Regions from separate parts of the Homo sapiens genome. Here region 1 is linked to region 2. The links are contacts of gene promoters, found by promoter capture Hi-C in human tissues and cell types (Jung and others, 2019). All regions are on one chromosome and are shown on one strand. Each heading gives the region's core, a stretch centred on a gene start or on the middle of the fragment in contact. The rest is flanking DNA. Distances are from core to core; before and after follow the strand shown. Region 1 overlaps C9orf43 (chromosome 9 open reading frame 43). Region 2 holds the start of ZNF618 (zinc finger protein 618).

Region 1 (4,676 bases), core at 1-2,500, 450 kb before region 2:
ACTGCAGGGAATGGGAAGGAGTGGTTCTAGGTTCATTTGGACAGCATGGAGGGCAAAGAACGTGTGGTAAAAGCTTCTCTTCAGTCCCAAGAGGTGGGTCTCTGGCTCATCTTAGATGTTAATTTCTCCAAGAGAAGCATCTTTTAGAAAAATCCTTTTAGTTTCCTAAAGTCTTGATTCAAATTTCCTTATACCCCAATGAATTTCAGGATTCCACGGAGAGACCAAAGATGAACTACTATGACCATGCGGATTTCCACCACAGTGTAAAAAGTAAGTTACTAGAGTAGAGGAACCTTAGTAAGTGACTGAGGATAGGGAGAGTTGAACCTGTGTTGACCAGGATAGTTTACCTCCCTGAAGGCACAGTTCCTCTATCTCAGAGAAGTCCTAAAAACACCCCATTTTTCCTTTTCTGTCCTCCATTTGTTGTAGTTGAGAGGAGTTTACAGGTGCAATTAATGACTGCATCTTCTTTTAGGTCCTGAATTGTATGAAACAGAACCCACTAACAAGGACATTAGTGCTCCAGTGGACGCTGTGCCAGAAGCCCAGGCTGCCAGGCAAAAGAAGATCTCCTTTAACTTTTCAGAAATTATGGCTAGCACAGGCTGGAACTCTGAGCTCAAACTACTTAGGATTCTTCAGGACACTGATGATGAGGATGAGGAGGACCAGTCCTCTGGGGCAGAGTGAGAAGCCTCTGGAGGAATAGACTGAAGGCATCCCCTGGGGCAGCCGTGTTCCAAAGCGGGATGGCTGGTATCCTGAGGGCAGCAACGTTTCACATAAGGGCAAGAGGAGAGGGGCTTCTGCTCTCTGGAGCCTTTACCAGGGCCTGAGCTCTGAGCTTAGGGATTCCATTTTCTTTGTTCACCTCTACTTGCCTCTAAAATAAATGTAGGAGAAAAATCCCCAGCCTTTTTAAATTTAGATTATTTCCTTTCCATTAGGGTCAGAATAATTTTGGTGATTAAACACAACTGCTTTTCAATCAAAAGACTTATTTTCTGTTTCTAGGAGGAAGGGAAAGATGTTTCTTGGTATCTGTTTTCTGGGTCACTCTTATCTCTGAAGTTCTGAAAGGTTTCCAGTTGTAGGAGGCTGAATTTGGCTCATGGGAGCTGCCATGATGCTCCCTAGATTTTCCTCTCATTCCCTAGAAATGGTTTCTTTTGGAGATGGGATCTACATTGTTATCAAATAATGTTCATTGTGTCGCTGGTCTTAAGCTCCTAGGCTCAAGCAGTCCTCCCTCCTCAGCCTCCCAAAGTGCTGGGATTACAGGCATGAACCACTGTGCCCAGCCAAAAGCTCTAGTTTCTTTCTTTTTTTTTTTGAGATGGAGTTTTGTTCTTGTTGCCCAGGCTGGAGTGCAATGGCATGATCTCGGCTCACCGCAACCTCCGCCTCCTGGGTTCAAGCGATTCTCCTGCCTCAGCCTCCCGAGTAGCTGGGATTACAGGCATACGCCACCATGCCTGGCTAATTTTGTATTTTTAGTAGAGATGGGGGTTTCTCCATGTTGGTCAGGCTGGTCTCGAACTCCTGACCTCAGGTGAGCCACCCACTTCAGCCTCCCAAAGTGCCGTGATTGCAGGTGTGAGCCACCGCACCCGGCAAAAAGCTCTAGTTTCTAAGGAACTGAGTCTGCACAGGAAAGTTTCAGTGATGCTCATAAAGGCTCAGAATTTCAGAGTCTGAGAGAACTTCTAACTTGGTTTTGGAGGTTTTTTTTTTTTCATGTTTTAGTCCTTAAAAAGATATAATGTAAAAATTTCAAAATTACGTAAAAGGAAAGAGAATAATATAATGAAACTTTGATGTATTCAGTATCTTAGATCTGGGCAAGGAAGGCCCTTGGCCCCGTGCTTTAGAAAGTCCTCTGGTGTTCTGGCTGTGCTGCCCCTCACGGCAGAGAAATCTGCAGAGCCAAGTGGACGTACACCTAGCTGGAGTCTGTGACTCCCCTTTTAGACTTTGTTCCTGGTATTTGGAACCCTGGAATTCCCTGCCCAGTGGCCTCTTGCCTACTTCCATGGCTTCTGCAGGCCTCTTTTGTGGGTCCATCTCCCAAGAGTGGACTATCCCACCAGTGTGTGTGCTGCTGGGTTCAAGGGGGTAAGAGGAGGGTATTTGGAGAGGGATGTGCCCAGAGCTTGGACAGATAGACTGGGGTATCAGCATTTGTTGCCTTTCCCAGTAAGGATGGGATCATGGGGATGAGAAGTGAGGGCTGGTTCTTCTAGTGCTGCATGTTAGTGTGGAACCTCAAGGAATCTGTGGATTTTGAATGAACCTGGCTTTCTAGATCATGAAGGTATACTGGTCAAGGTAGCAAGTTAGAACATGTTTTATTTAACAATTTGTTAGCTTAATTTATAGTTTTTAAATGTTCAGACATGGTTAGTAGACCTGTTTTTGTACACTTATCCTGAGTCCTGCAAAACATTAGGACTGTCCAGAGCCATCATTTGGGACAAATTTTAAGGAGGAAGAATTTAACCCCACAATGTAGAGATCATTAATTTGCAGTCCCATTTTAAAGGTAAGGATAGCAAGGCTCAGAGAGGGGATTTGTCTTGACTGAGCTCATGAGCTGGGAAGTGGGGCTAAGCTGGAATCTGGGTCTCCTAGTGCTAGGTCAGAGCTCTTTTCATTATTCCAGTCTGCTGTTCTCTCACCTCATTCTCCAGAAACAATGGTAGGTTATTCATCATCATATTTAACCAGAGTCTGACTTCCTCTCCTTCCTGGTGTGCTGTCTGTCTTCCTCTGTAATTGATTAATGTGGGTCCCAGGGATGCTGGCTCCATGTTTTTTATAATCAGGAAAGTTGGAAACATATAAAAGTTAATGAGATCCCATGTGTCCATTACCTAAGAATTATCAATTTGTGACCAATCTTGTTTCATATACACACACCCCCATCCTGAACAAGGTTATCTGAAGCAAAGGTCATTTTTATCCATAAATATTTCAGCATACACTTCTAAAAGAAAAGTGTTAAAAATAACTACGAAAATTAATCATAGCTGCTTAATATCAAATATCCAGGCAAATTCAAATTTCCCTCTATTATTAATTTCTTTTCACAGTTGATACCTTCAAACTAGAATCCAAATAAGGCCCATAAATTGTATTTGGTTGATACACTCAAAAATTTCTTTCTTTCTTTTTTTTTTTTGACATAGGGTCTCACTCTGTTACCCAGGTTGGGGTGCAGTGGCACGATCACGGCTCACTGAAGCCTCGACCTCGTGGGCTAAGATGATCCTCCTGCCTCAAATTGTTGGGACCACAGCCATGCGCCACCATGCCTGGCTAATTTTTTTTTTTTTATTATTTGTAGAGATGGTGTCTTGCTATGTTGCCCAGGCTAGTCTCAAACTCCTGGGCTCCAGTAATCCTCCCATCTTGGCCTCCCAAAGTGCTGGGATTACAGGAGGGAGCCACCTGGCCCCTAAAATTCTTTAATCTATAGGTCCCACTTTCTCCTTTTTCATTTTTCTTTTCTTGCAATTTATTTGCTGAAGAAACTGGGTTGTTTGGTCTGTAGATTCCTACATTCTTGATTTTTCCAGTTGTATCCTCATGGTGTTGTTTAACACATTTCTTCATTCTCTTTATTTCCTGCAAACTGTTAGATCCAGAGGCTTGAGCTGCTTCATGGTATTTTTTTTTTTTTGCAAGAAAATTTCATAGATGGCATTATGTTCTTCCATCAGGAGGCCCTTAATGTCTGGGTGTCTCTTCTCTGGTCTTAGTGGCCAATAATGATCTTTGCCTGATTTTTGTATATTGATCGTGTATCCCGCAACATTACTTACCTTGTTACTTAGTTTTGGTAGTTTTTTAGTGGATTTCTTATTATTTTCTTTTTCTTTTTTGGAGTGTTTCGCCTTTATTGATAGTGTTGTTGGGGACAGAGGAAAGATTTCTTTTCTCACATGTTGCTAGGTTAATGACAGAGACATATATAGCAAAGGACAGATTAGCAAGAGAAAAGCACACACGTTTATTTAATATAAGTTTTACATGACATGGGAGCCTTCCTATGGAGGTGAAGACAAAAACACAGGGAAACCTGGGTATTTTTATGCTGTTTGATGGAGAGTAGACAGTTGTGGAGAAATATGATTGGAGGACAAAAGAGTATGATCTAATGGTAATAAACTGGGGGAACTTAGCAAGGCGTGTTTGTGTAGATTCTTCTTTGTGTCCCTTGTGTCTTCAGAGCTAAGGATATTCCTTCCCTTTAGGTATAGGGAGGGTCCCTCTCAAAATGAGAAACTTGTTTTGGGGAGAAGAGGGAATGATGAGAGTGACCTTCCTGGTTCTGCCATGTTTTCAAATGCCAAGGTGCCATATTTTGGGGTTGCATGTCCTGAACCCCATCATTGTCCTCTTCTAAATTCATCCCTAACATGTCAAGGTGACTTCAGGGTGGTCACATGGTCCTGAGGCTTCCCCTTCATGAGTGAAGTGTGTTTTTCTAATGTGATGCTCCTGCAGGCAAAGTGGGGAAAGATGCCTTCTGACATGCAGCCCAACTTGTTTTTGGCTTATCATTCCTTTCATCCAGCAGGAACTAAGATTGCACCTGCCCACTTGCTGGTTTATTATACTACAAAGGATACAGATGAAGAAATGTGTAGGTCGAGGTATGGGGGAAG
Region 2 (4,433 bases), core at 337-2,836:
TAGGGCTAAACTCCCAATTTAACTTATTAGGGAAAGGAGGTGTCTTCTACACAGTGCCTCCGTTTCCTAAAATTTTAAAAATAACTTTTTTGAGGATTGTAGGGAAAACATTTCTGTAACCTTTCCTGTCTCATATTGCTCCAGTTCTTTAAACATTACAAAAAAGAACATTTGATTTTTGAAGGTGGGGGCAGAGAGAAGATACCTGGTTACTCTTAATTTCCAATGCTTTTATTTTTGAAAAGTACCCTTGCAGTTTTCTTTTGGGGAGGGGCAAAGAAGGATTTCTGTTCACCTTGCATCTCATAGAAGAGCAATTCTTAACATTTTTATTCCAAAAATCAACCAGTTGTGGGAGATGTAGGATGGATCCAGTAATCCCTCCTTGTCTCTATAATAGGGCAGGTCCTTCATACTTTCAATTTTTAAAAAATCGGATTTTTTAGGAGAATAGGGAAGAGAATAGAAAAAAAAATCCCTTTTAAACTTTCCCAAGTCACAAGGAGGCAGTTGCTCAAGTTAAAAAAAAAAAAACAACAATAACAACAACAAAAAAACTGGCTATTTTGGGGTGTTGGAAAGAAATATCCTGGTTCACGTTTTATTTCACATGCAAGTTTCTCAAATTTTCCTTCTCTAAATCAACCTAACTGGGGGATATGGGGGTGGGGGGCGCTAATATCCCTTAACCTTTAACCCCTCTTGTCTTACTGTAGGACCAGTTTTTCAAACTTTTATTTAGAAATACATATATATATTTTAATTTGGCAAGGATAGGCAGAAACAGCCGCTTCACTGGCATTTCACATAAAAGCGGCTCCTCAAGTATTTATTTTAAAAATCAGTCTGGCTGGGGGGCTAGAGTCCCCTTAACCACTCTTGTCGGACATGGGGCCAGTCCTTCAAACTTTTATTTTATTACATTAGTTTTTTTGGGAGGAGTGGCAGGGCAATAGAATATTCCCAATAAGCCTTCCAGTCTTCCAGCAAGCCAGCTCTTGAAAACTTTTATTTCAAAAATCAATCTGGTTTTTTTTTGGCGGGGGGGTACAGCGGGGTACAGAGTTCCCATTAACCTCTTGCGTTCCGCCGAGAGCCGGCTCCCTGAACTTTTTTTCCAGCGTGAAAATGACATTTCCGAGGGGCTGGGGGACTGGGGGAGGGCAGAAGGGAGCCGGGGAGCGGGCGCGGGGGGCGCGGGGAGGGCAGGGCGCGGCGCGGGAAAGTTTGGGGGGGCGGGTGTGCCGCGGCACTGGGGCTGGCGGACGGGAGGGCGGGCGCGCCCCTGGACCGGCCGGCTTTGTGTGCCACGCGGAGGCCGGCAGCGCGGAGGCCGAGGCCGAGGCCCCGAGCTCGCGGGCCGCACGGCGAGGCCGGCCCGGGGGCGGGCAGGGCGGCGGGGGGCGGCGGCGGCCCCGCGAGGGGCGGCTCGGCGGCAGCGGCTGCCGCGGCGCGGCCGGTGCGGGCCGGGGGTGGGGGCGAGGGCCGGCGCCCCCCCCGCGCGCCCCCAGCGCCCCCGCCCCCCCGGCCTGAGCGGGGCGGGCGGAGGAGGGAGCGGCGGCGGCGGCGGCGGCGGCGGCGGCGGCATTGTGCGCGCACCAGCAGCCCGGCCCGGGAGGAGCAGGACGCGCCGGGGCCGCCTCCTCCCGCACGGACCCATGAACCAGCCGGGCGGCGCGGCGGCTCCGCAGGTACGACGGGGGGCCGGGGGCATGCACCGCGCGGGGGACCCCGGGGGGCCGGGGCCCGGGGCGCTGCGCCACTTCATTGCAAGATTTGCAAAATGCAAAGTGCCTGGGCACGTTTGCGGGCTTTTTGTGGGCGCAATCGGGAGGGTCGGGGTCCGGAGAGCACCCCCCCGGGCGCTGCGGGGTGCGAGGAGGGTGGGGGTGACGAGGGGGTCTTTTGGGGCCCCCACCCAGCGCCCCCTCCGGCCCCGGGCTCGGACCGGAGCCCAGAAAACAAAGCGGCGAGAGAACAGAGCAGCCATTTCAGTTTGGACAATTCACATTTTGCAAAAATGCAACCCCTTCCAGCTCTGCCCCCTCCCCCCCAAATTTGCAATTTTCCCCTGACCCTCTCTGCGCTCGGGGTCCCCGATGACCCCCCGGGAGGTCTTTCCCCCCAGGTCCCCCATTTTTGCAACAATCTTTTTTTTTAGGCCATATTTTCCTTTCTCAATTTTTTTTTTCTAATTTTTCTTCAAACGGTAGTTTTTTCCCATTAAAACGACGCCACCTAGAGGATACTATTTTGTAAATAAAAAAGAAATTAAAATTGAAAAGAAATATTTTTTATTTCTTATTTTTTCAAAAGTTTGCACTACCAGGCAGTGGAGGGGTAAGAGATTCTTTTTTTTTCTTTTTTCGGGTGAAAATTTTCACTTTGATCTTTCCAGAAGCATGGAGACAATTTTTATTTCTGAAGCCAAATCCAGATAATATGTAAATGAAAATTAAGCTGGAATTTGAATGAATTTAGTTCTTGGAGGGGAGAAAGCAAAAAACCTCCTAAAAGCAAAGTCAGTTTGGGTACCCAACTCATTTTAGTTTGAGAAAAAAACTAATTGGAATAAAGAAAGGAGGGAAATTGTTGAGTTTAGGGAAAACTGAGAGAATTGGCTTTATGAAGCAATTAGAAATTGTACTTCATTGTAATTTGGAACTTGTTTAGCTCAGCGGGCAAAAAAAGACTAATTTCTCTATATGGCAATATTTAAAGTTTTTCTATTTCCACGAACGAAGGATTTAAAAGAGAAAATAGAACCTAAAATGTTGGCTTTGGACACACCCAAAAATTGTAGTTTTTTTTTTTTAATTTTGCATTTACATTTTACTGCATTTAAATCCTAAGATTCTAAAGAAAACAGAAACTAGAAAAGTTACAGTGAAATCCTTTCTTTCTTTTTTTCTGTATTTGTTGGGTTTTGTGTGTGTGTGTGTTTTTTTTGTTTTGATGGAATAATTAAGACTGTTTTCTGATTTTGTTTCCTGAAAGGTCTAGGCATTTCTTTTTTGTTGTTGTTTTATCCAGAAAATGTCAGGAACCTTTTTTGAGCAATATTAAGTGGAAAAAATGTAAATTCATACATTATACAAATTGAGTAGCCCACAGATTTGTAGGAGAGACCGCCATTAAAATAAGATATGCATAATTAACATTATTATGAAAAAACTAACAGTGGATTCACAGAAGCTCATTTTTTATGACATGCAACTGAATCAATTGATGAAGACAAGGATTGAGGAATCCTTGGTAAGGAAGAAAATTTTCCCTTTTCTGTCTTGTTCACCCTTCCAATTTGAAAAATTTATTACTTAAAAAAAATTTAGATTGGTTTCAGGCCTCTTTGATTGTGATGTGGGGTTGGTAGTTTATCAATATTTGTTATTTTTCAAAAACCTGATTACTTTCAAAGGGGGAAAAATCCATTAGCCTTGATCATTTTGGGGGGTTTGTGACCAAAAAAAAAAAATGCACAAATTTTACTGACTTAACAAGAAAAAGATAAAAGAGGGATGGGCAAAAAGGAGATGAAAATTCTGATTCTTATCCATCTTCCTTGGTAGAACACTTACTTTGCTGAAGAAATGTGATATAACACCAACTCAGCTGGTTTTAGCAGCAACAAAATAAAGGAAAAATAATCAAAATACAAACAAAAGCCAAACCCAAGGTTTGCCTTTGGAATATGAAAGCATATATGCAAACAATATTTCATGTGGAGGTTTTGGCCTTAAAATGAATCACATGAAGGTGAAACAAAAAAGAAAAAAAAATTTAAGAAGGCAAATAAATATTGACCGAATTGAAATTTGACAGATGAGAATAAAGTACCCACCCAAAGATGAAGCGTTTTGTGATAAATTAGTATCTAATTGAACTTGCTGGGGATTTTGAGCCTATCCCCCAAAAGTTACAATTTTTCTGTCCAAAAACAGCATATTGTTAGGACTTGCAGGGCGGGATCTTGGAGGGACCTTGGATTGGAAATTGATGGTGGGTCACCTGGGGCAAGAAAGGAAACCCTTTGCTCCTTTTGCCAGCCACTAGCTGGTCTTGGGAAAACTGGTGGCCCCAGTCCATAGATTCCCAACCCTGTTTTGTGGAAATTTGGATGTTTAAGTGGAATAAGTCAAATATATTATCTCTGTGAAATATATTTGACAATGGCAGAGGTTTGACATTTCCCATCATCGCCATTGCATTTGGGAGATTTTATTTTTTTAGTAACGAAATCCTTCAGGGCTGACTGGTCACATTCTGACATATTTGGAATGAGCTTTTTTTTTTTTAAGTAGCATAATTAAAAAAATTTTTTTCTGTTGAATTATTTAGGCCGATGAGTAGGACGGTCAAGGAATTTATAATTTCCAAGGGGCTTTGGAGGCCTCATGAGGCAGAAGGCCTGAGTTTAGCAGTGATGAAGGAGA

What was found. The method cuts DNA at HindIII sites, captures the fragments that hold promoters and counts their contacts. A contact is called where the count stands out against the background at its distance.
Region 1: a contact is called between a fragment that was not itself captured here and the fragment with the promoter of ZNF618 in region 2, in 1 of the 25 tissues and cell types used here (aorta).

What each region holds. Positions count from the first base shown.
Region 1 is chr9:113,428,691-113,433,366 of GRCh38, forward strand. It overlaps C9orf43 (chromosome 9 open reading frame 43), which reads left to right. Exons shown (of 14, transcript NM_001278629.2): 13 at 210-273; 14 at 482-1,000. The coding sequence ends at 696. Among named protein-coding and RNA genes, the nearest start is that of C9orf43, 20 kb to the left of the region's middle. The HindIII fragment of the contact is 8,820 bases long and covers 1-4,676 here.
Region 2 is chr9:113,874,723-113,879,155 of GRCh38, forward strand. ZNF618 (zinc finger protein 618) reads left to right here and starts at 1,587. Exons shown (of 15, transcript NM_001318042.2): 1 at 1,587-1,691. The coding sequence starts at 1,659. RefSeq lists an enhancer at 1-11. The HindIII fragment of the contact is 30,531 bases long and covers 1-4,433 here.